3 separate regions of the Homo sapiens genome follow, and all the other regions are linked to region 3. The links are contacts of gene promoters, found by promoter capture Hi-C in blood cells and fetal thymus (Javierre and others, 2016). All regions are on one chromosome and are shown on one strand. The core of a region is centred on a gene start or on the middle of the fragment in contact, and the rest is flanking DNA. Distances in the headings are between cores, read along the strand shown. Region 1 overlaps USP22 (ubiquitin specific peptidase 22). Region 2 has its middle 14 kb from the start of LINC01563. Region 3 holds the start of TMEM11 (transmembrane protein 11).

What was found. The method cuts DNA at HindIII sites, captures the fragments that hold promoters and counts their contacts. A CHiCAGO score of 5 or more calls a contact.
Region 1: a contact is called between a fragment that was not itself captured here and the fragment with the promoter of TMEM11 in region 3, in 1 of 17 cell types (total B cells). The highest score is 5.9, in total B cells.
Region 2: a fragment that was not itself captured here is called in contact with the fragment with the promoter of TMEM11 in region 3 in 1 of 17 cell types (total B cells); the score reaches 6.1 in total B cells.

Annotation. Positions count from the first base shown.
Region 1 is chr17:21,016,658-21,019,471 of GRCh38, reverse strand. It overlaps USP22 (ubiquitin specific peptidase 22), which reads left to right. Exons shown (of 13, transcript NM_015276.2): 4 at 287-388; 5 at 1,361-1,530. Among named protein-coding and RNA genes, the nearest start is that of USP22, 25 kb to the left of the region's middle. The HindIII fragment of the contact is 5,848 bases long and covers 1-2,814 here.
Region 2 is chr17:21,059,877-21,062,744 of GRCh38, reverse strand. No RefSeq gene overlaps it. Among named protein-coding and RNA genes, the nearest start is that of LINC01563, 14 kb to the left of the region's middle. RefSeq lists an enhancer at 643-762. The HindIII fragment of the contact is 2,550 bases long and covers 58-2,607 here.
Region 3 is chr17:21,212,757-21,215,456 of GRCh38, reverse strand. TMEM11 (transmembrane protein 11) reads left to right here and starts at 1,296. Exons shown (of 2, transcript NM_003876.3): 1 at 1,296-1,366. The coding sequence starts at 1,305. It overlaps TMEM11-DT (TMEM11 divergent transcript), which reads right to left and starts at 1,132. Exons shown (of 2, transcript NR_184102.1): 1 at 1,007-1,132. RefSeq lists enhancers at 315-524, 1,295-1,394 and silencers at 685-954, 1,075-1,214. The HindIII fragment of the contact is 13,322 bases long and covers 1-2,235 here.

The DNA.
Region 1 (2,814 bases), core at 21-2,520, 200 kb after region 3:
TGAAAAACAACTGTTTTGGCATTGGCGTTGGGGTAGTTTTGACTGGAGGTGCTGCTTTTCTTGCAGGAAACGTAGCTCACATCCTCATACCCTCTGTGAGAAGCTCCTTTAAGTGTTGTGTGTAGCCCCTCTCAGCACAGTAGAGTTTGAGAAAGCCCTGGTGCTGTGGATGTTGCTCACTGAAATGCACCCTGACAGACAGCATAGCGCCACAGCTTTTATGTGTAAACACACTTGATGTGAAAATCTAGCTAATAGCGCTTGGAACTGTCCTTCATCTGCTTAGGCGTTGGAGAGAAGTTTTCAACTTGGGAACCAACCAAACGGGAGCTTGAACTGCTGAAGCACAACCCGAAAAGGAGAAAGATCACCTCGAACTGCACCATAGGTGGGTGGAGCGTGTCGTCACTCTCAGCTAGGCTTCTTTCCAGGGTTTAAAAGTAAATACAGAATTGTGGGTTTCTTAAGTCCACATGATTCTGTTGAAGCCCTGCATAACTGTCACTCATCAATGTGCTCAGCAACCAGCTCTTGAGCACCTGTTCTCTGCAGGGACCTGCAGTGGGCTTGGGGCGCAGAGTGATGCGTAGCAACAGCCCTGCCCTCACAGCCTTCAGCGTCTGTGTGGGTAAAGGGACTCAAGTTGATTTTGGCCAGGGTGAGGCTGGGCACAGTAATCTTCAGGGAGAGAAATGATGTGTGTGAGTGTAAGTGTTCGCTGAATTTTCTACAAATTGAGGGAATACCCTTTAAAACTTTTTCTTTTTCTTTTTTGAGACAGAGTCTTGCTCTGTTGCCCAGGCTGGAGCACAGTTCACTGCACCCTCTGTCTCCTGGGCCCAAGCGATCCTTCCACCTCAGCCTCCCAAGTAGCTGGGATTGCAGGTGCACACCACCATGTTTGGATAATTTTTGTGTTTTGCGTAGAGACATCTCACCATGTTGCCCAGGCTGGTCTCGAACTCCTGGGCTCCAGTGATCCTCATGCCTTGGCTTCCCAGAGTGCTGGGTTACAAGTATGAGCCCCTGCCCTGGCCCTAGAACATTTTTAAAAACCTGTTTTGTTTGTTCATTAGGCTTCACTCTGACCTGGCCTGTTGTCGTAGAAACTATATTTGTGTAATTCTGTCAAAGCATACAATGGCTGAAGTGGGAGGGGTCCATGGTGGTGGACATTCTTCAATACCGTTCATGTAAAAGTGGCATAAAAACTAGCAGAATGCGATATCTCATCGTGTTCTGGCTTGAATGAATGAATAAAAGAAAATGAGTATGTAGAGGTAGAGGAAGCCGCTGGGATCCAGCGACACCTGTGGTTCAGCACACAGGTAACTCCTGCTCTCTGGTGATTTGTGTCCAGGTCTGCGTGGGCTGATCAACCTTGGGAACACATGCTTCATGAACTGCATCGTGCAGGCCCTGACCCACACGCCACTTCTGCGGGACTTCTTCCTGTCTGACAGGCACCGCTGTGAGATGCAGAGCCCCAGCTCCTGTCTGGTCTGTGAGATGTCCTCACTGTTTCAGGAGGTGAGCGCCATTGACTTCTGCAGGGGAACATTTCTGTTACTTTGTTTTCACCTTCAAAAAAAAAATTTAAGGTGGACCATGATAAAGGAAGATACATTTAGAACCTTTTGTAGTAAGTTAATGTTTAATATACATGTCTATTATGGAAAACACAGTTTTCCAAAAAGGGAAGACCTGGCGTGATTTTTGGGGACGCACTGCTGACTCAGAACAAGGAGAAGCCCTTTGAGAGGCTTGTGGCAGAGACTTCCCTGGTGGGTGACATTTGTCTCTAAAGACGGGTGATTCTCCCCCTTCCTCTTCCTCCATGGTCTACCTTCCTGGCTCAGAAAGGCACGCATGTGTCACCCTCCTGTGTCCTCCTGGTATGCGAGTCTCCTCCACCGCCAGGTCTCTCTAAGCATGCCCCATCAGAGCCTCTGTCCTCATGAGCTACGCGCTGCACGTTGGCTGTTCCTGTGGGCTGCACGTGTGGCGTTCCTGTCCACTTCTGTCCCCGGCATCAGAGCATGGCAGCGTTCAGAGCAAGGCGTTCACGGCTGCCGCCTCAGCCCTCACCGGCTCCGTGACCTAGACATGCTTCTCAGAGCTGAAGCAGCTCAGTTACCTCAACTAATAAGCAGGCTGGTGCCTGTTCTTCAGGTGCCTTGCACAGGAGCCAGCCAACAGCCCTGGCCTGTTCCCATTCGTAACCTCTGCGAGAGATGCAGCCACGCCAGCTCACTCATGTCTGTCTGGTCACTGGTCGCTTTTGTGGGACAGCCACAGAGTTGAGCAGTTGGACAGAGGCTATCCAACCTGCAAAGCTGAAATTATTTACTGTCCAAGCCTTTCAAAAACAGATTGCCAGCCTCTGGTCGAGCCTAACCGATTTCCTCAAAGTACCTGCAATGTGCCATAACTGCTGGGGACACGGCCCAAATAGGAGAAAGGAGGGTGCAGCTGGGAAGTTGGTGGGTGGTTGTATCACTGACTTTAGTGATAAGCTCACTTGTGTTAGATTGTTTTTAGACTCCGGCTTGTTAAGGTGTAAATTACAGTCACACCCACCTTCTAGCCTATAGATAGATGAGTTTCGACGAATGCATAGTTGTGTAACTGCTGCTACTCAAGATGAAGAACTGTTACCTCTCCGAACTCCCTCGTGCCCCTCCGAAGTCAACCCCCAGTCCCCAGACCCTGGTAGCTGCCGATCTGTCTTCGGTCCCTTGAGTGTCCTTTACCAGCGCATCATACGGATGGATGCATGCAGGAAGTAGCCTTTCTGAATCTGGCTGTCCCTAC
Region 2 (2,868 bases), core at 83-2,582, 150 kb after region 3:
GCCCCGCTCTGGACCTACAAAATCACAAACTCGGGGTGCAGCCAGGCACCCCAAGCTTCTTCTGTTGTGTGCTCTGGTTTGAGAAGGATTGTGGTGGAGCATTAACATTTTCCAGCTGATGAGCAAATATTATCTCAGTATTCCGTTTCCCATTACTGATTATAAAATTCCCTTTTCCTCATATCGTCTTTTGTCTTGTCTATGTCTTCCTGCTGGTTCCCTCACTAATGAGTTAAACACAATTTTCATGCCATGCTCACTACTCGTTTTTATGAGGATTATGTTTTTAACATTTTGAAAATTAGACTCTGACACCAACACTAAGGGAAATGCACTGAGTTTCTGTTTCTGGTTGTGCTTCCTGGTGGCTGCCGACAGGGCCTCTGTCACACTCCAGTGGCCTCCCAGCACCTAGTGAACAGCCACCCTCTGTTTGGGGAACGTTCCACATCAAGGGTCTCTCATCTTCAGGATGGGAAGGCCAGAAATTCACTTTCGCAGACTCCATTTCCTCAAGGGTACAACACATGATCAGGATCCACCACATGGGCGTGCCTGGGAGGGACCGCAGGAGACAGTGCAAACATGCTTCCCAGGCCCATTTTCTGGTGGAGGTAACTGGAGGGGTTCTCACTCTGTGGCCTCCTAGAATTTGGGTGGTTTCTTTGTCTTTTCATTTATTTATTTTAGAGATGAAGTCTTGTTGTGTTGCCCAGGCTGGTCTCAAACTCGTGACCTCAAGTGCTCCTCCTGCCTTGGCCTCCCAAAGTGTTGTTGATGGCAGCAGTGGGACATCCGGAGTGGCCACTGCCATCATGCCAGCTGCAGCAGGGAGGTACAGGCAGTGGTGGCAGGAGGCAGGAGTGGCTGCAGGAGCAGCAGTGGCAGTGGTGGGTCCCCTGTGCCCCATCTCAGAGGCAGCCAATGGCATCATCCCCACCCTCACATAGCCAGGCAGGACGCTCTCCCAGGCCCAGAGCCTCTGCTGTGGCTTCAACCTCGCTCCCCACCACATCCCGGGAGCCCGTGAGCACCGAGCCAAAGGCACAGCTGGGGCTTTCAGGGCCAGCCCTGAGAGCATCAGGTTCATTTGTGCGGGGTTGGCCAGGGTCGCCCTGCCACCTGCACCTCACCTGCCACCACTGCAGGGAAAACACAGAGAGGAGGTGAGCAGTCCTTGGAGCCCACCCCTGGGAGCCCTCCAAAGCCGGCCACCCTGGGAGCCACCAAGATGGGGCCAGGCTGAGTTGCCTGCCAGTGGGGGAGCAGCACGGTAGAGCACGGAGGGACGGGCAGAAAGGGGCTCCTAGGCGGAGCTGGACCCAGGGCAGTGCCATGCTCCATGGTACTGGGAGGAGCCAGAAGCAGAAGAGCCCCACCCTCCCAAGCACAGCTGCAGCAGCCCAAGTCACAGCTAGGGACCCTGGCCTCCCTGTACTCTTGGGGGCTGGAAGCAGGCAGGAGCCCTACCCTCCTGGGGGCAGCTGCAGCTGCCCAAGCCGTGGCTGAGGACCCAGGCATCTCTGCACTCTTGGGGACCAGGATGGCCCCCCTTCCTCCCACATGCTGGGAGTGTCTGCTCCCACTATCTGGCCTCTCCCTGCTCCTGGCACCCACTACAATCTTGAAGCAAGGATGGGGCTGAGCCTGGGCACTGTCACAGACCAGCCAGGTGTGCACACACTCAGGGCAGCACTGACATACCAGCCCCCTGCCACCTCAGCCCCCTCTGGACTTGGGCACTGATGAGCATGGGAAGGAGGCTGACAGTGGGCTGAGGGCAGCTTGGTGCTGGTCTGCAGGCACCCTTTGGCATGAACAGCCTAGGCTTCATGAATGGCAGCAGGAGGCATACAGGCCCCAGGGTGGAAGGCGACGGGTCCCCAGTGAAGCCCCAACTTCAAGCTAGGGAGGGCCTGAAGCCCGGGGGCTGGGCTGCTGGTCCTGTGGACTGGAATGGGAACTTGTGGTGCTTTTTCTGGGCCTACCCATGGCTGCCCATGGACCAATTGGCATGTGCTTCCTCCCTTCTGAGGCCCATAAAAACCCTGGACTTAGCCAGACCAGAAGAGATGTCGGGACTGCCAGCTGTGGAGAGGAGCTACCCACTCTAAGGTCTCCTCTCTGCTGAGAGCAGGGAAATGACAAGACAACCTTCTCTGCGGGGGAGCTACCCTCTCTACTGAGCGCTAAGTACTCATCGGGACGACCTGCCTAGGAGAGAGGAGCTACCCTCTCTATTAAGGGCTGAACACTCACTGGGACACCCTGGCTACGGAGAGGAGCTACTCACCGTGGCTCTCCTCTGAGCTGTTCCATTGCTCAATAAAGCTCCTCTTCATCTTGCTCACCCTTCACTTATCTGAGTACTTCATTCTTCCCGGACACAGGACAAGAACTCAGGACCTGCTAAATTGCAGGGCTAAGAGAGCTGTAACACAAACAGGGCTGAAACACACCCCTTGCTTGCCATGTTATGGGTGACAAGGAGAAAAAAAGAGAGGAGAGAAGAGCTGTGGCCCTTTGGGGAACCCAGACCTAGGAGCTCCCTGAGCCAGGGTTGTGCCTCCCCCTTTATGGCTCTGTGGTTCCTGGTGTCTCCAAGCTTCCAGGCACCACTGTGTTCCTCAGTGTCAGCTGTGGAAGTTGCTTATGGTATGCCTGGTCTAGCCACAGCCTCGCAGGAAGCTGGTGCCTGTACAGGTGCCTAGAACTGCCTGCCTGGCCATAACCGGCGTGCCTGGCTGTGCACAGTGGCCGGGCCCCATGCTTGCTCACACACCCCTTGCCGCTCCTCACCTGGCTCACCCTTGGCAAGTATGAGATCTAAGCCAGTAGCGCAAGCTGAGCACAGCCTGCCAGGCCGAG
Region 3 (2,700 bases), core at 47-2,546:
AAGCAGCTAAAACTGTGGTAGAATGTCAGCTGGAAGGAAATCGAAAGGAATCCTCAACAAGGAGAGGGTCGCCTTTCCGTCTGCTGGCCCTCCTGCTGTGGCCTGCGGCGGGGTGGGAAGGGGGGTTCCACTACACAGAAGTGTGACGCGCAGGGCTGGGCTTCTTCTAGGCTGAATTCGGGACAGATTTTCGCATTTGTTTTGCTCAAGTATTTATGGGACCAATTAATATGTTTAGCAACGTTGTCTGTGGGAGCAGTAGAGGAACTGAGAAGTTCACAAACTGTAAGAGATCCTCCAAAGAGTCCACAGGTCTGAGGCAGCAGCACCTGGGAATCTCTGGGCTCCAGTTAGTCCTTCCTGACTTTGACTCGTTACAGCAGTGTCCAGACAGGGATATGTCGGGTCCTGTGGCAGGGTTCCCGTCAGGTGGGATGGTTTAGCCCCGCATCTGCCTTCAAAGATCCCGAGATTATGCCGTCGCAGCGGCCAGGGCAGGAGTGGGTGCGTGGCAGGGACTGAGTCTAAGAGGCCTGGAGGCCCTGTCTAAAACAGAGCTGTCGCTGGGCCCTCTCGCCTTCAAGCAGTTATCATACAGCTATTCCCCTTTCTTGTTTTCAGACCCTCTCCTCTAACAGCCTGCACCTGCAAGCAGGGACCTCCGTGGCAGCAGGGACAGCGTGTCTGTCTCGGCCTCCAAAGTACCCCGGAGTCTAAGAGAACTGGGGGAGGATGGTGCGGGAGCAGCGCCCGCCTCCAAGGAGGGCCCGGGCGGCGCCTCCCGCCCCTCGGTGACCTTATGGGCCAAGGCTGTGAAGGGCAGGCGTGGCGACGCGGAGGGGCCCGGCGCTAGTAGCCCGCAGACAGCGCGGCGGCCCCCAGCGGGAGAGGCAGCCTGGCGGCCAGGACAGCGCGGCCGGGCGCCTCCGCGCAGTGCTCTGGGAGTTGTAGGCACTTGCCTCTCCTCTCTCCTTCAGCTACTGGCTCTCGAAACTCAAGGACCTACCGGTGGGTGGGCGCCTGTGACTCCCAGGCTGCGAACGCCGGGAACTCAGTTTCTTCAGAAATGCTCGAACCAGGACGGCTCCTGGAGTCCTCGCGCCCTCGCAGAAGGACTACGGGCCCCGGCGACCCCGGGGGCGGGGCTTCCGGCGCGCTGCCTTGTGGGCACGGTAGTTCCGCCGGGTCTGGCTTCCGCCTGCCGAGCGGCCCCGGACCGCAGGCCGGACTACACTTCCCGTCGGCCCGCCTGCTCTCCCGATGCCGCCTTGGCGCGAGACGTTGGCAAGCAGAGTGTCTCCAAGATGGCCGCTTGGGGAAGGAGGCGTCTTGGCCCGGGCAGCAGTGGCGGCAGCGCCCGAGAGAGGTGAGATCCAAGGGCTTGTTGCCCCCAGTGCAGGCGGCTCAGCGGCCGGAGAGCCCAGCGCGGCCTCCGAGGGCTGCAGCAGCCTTCCTTCCCTGGTTTCCCCGCGCTCCCCCTACCCTCGCCGGGCATACTGGGTTCCAGTTCCGGAGGATCCGGGATCCGGGTGGGAGCGAGGTCGAAGGCCTCGGCGGAGAGCTTAGGGGAAGGGGCGTTAGCCGGGCTGAGTAAGGTAGGCAGCGGCCATGCGGGGCGGGGCCCGAGGCCGGGCCGTGCTGAAAGGAACTGGCGCCCAGCGCAGGCCTCAGGGACCCGCCTAGCTGCCCGCGGGCCGATCGGCTGCTGAAGCACCCTTCCCGCCTGGGCACGCGCGTGGCCATCTCGGCCGCGGCCCCAGACGTGTAGAGGAAGGCAGGGCCCCCGGAGAGAGAAAGAAGGGGAAGCCTTCACAGAGCAGGCCGGCCGCGGCAGGGGTAGTTTGATCTGCACGTTTACTAGGGAGCTTTAGCTCCCGCCAGATGTGTCTCTTCCGAGCCCAGAGCCGGCCACTTCCTCGAGGGAAGATTCTGAAGACTTTTGGATGGTTCTGTGCAAGCGCTCCTGCCGTAGAAGTCCTTTAAAGTGACCTTTCCTAATGAATGGTGTGTGGGCAGGGAGCTAGGAGCGTGTTTCTTCCAACAGGGACCTCCATTTGAATAACTGATTTCTAGAAGATGAGATTGGAGTAGTTTCCGTGTTTCATGTTCAAGTTGCAGTTTTTGCATCTGGGAAGCAGTTTCAGCTAGTGGAAACCACTAGAAGCTGTTCAGCCACTAGAAATTTGGGAGAAGATGTATTGGTGGAGCCACCTGGATTAACTGTCCGCTAAAGCTTGATTGTTATAGCAGCGGTCAGCAAAAAAGGAAAAGTTTTTGTTTTGCTGGTTCTCCCCCTCCCCGTCTTTTTGGTGAGGATTGTCTAACAGAAAAGTTATCTTCCTCTCAACTACTCTGCATTATTCCTTTTCTGTGACTGATTCCATCCCGTGTTCATTGCTATTGCTTGCAGATGGCTTTCCCAGCTGGGAAGATTCTTCCTGTTTGGCAGTTGTGATAGAATCCTTTAGCTTGCTTGCACTTTATTCTTTAGCCCAGTTATCCAGCGTTGCCCATTCTGCATTTCCTCTTCCTTGGAAAAGCAGTGGTAAACACACTTTTGTTTTTCTAACTCCCGCCTGGTATTAGATTGGACCATTTAAATAAGTTACCTCAATGGTTTTCAGATGCTCTTAAAAACTAGCAAACATTTTCAAGATATTCAATGCAAACAGTAATACGAAATAACCTGTTTAGAAAACA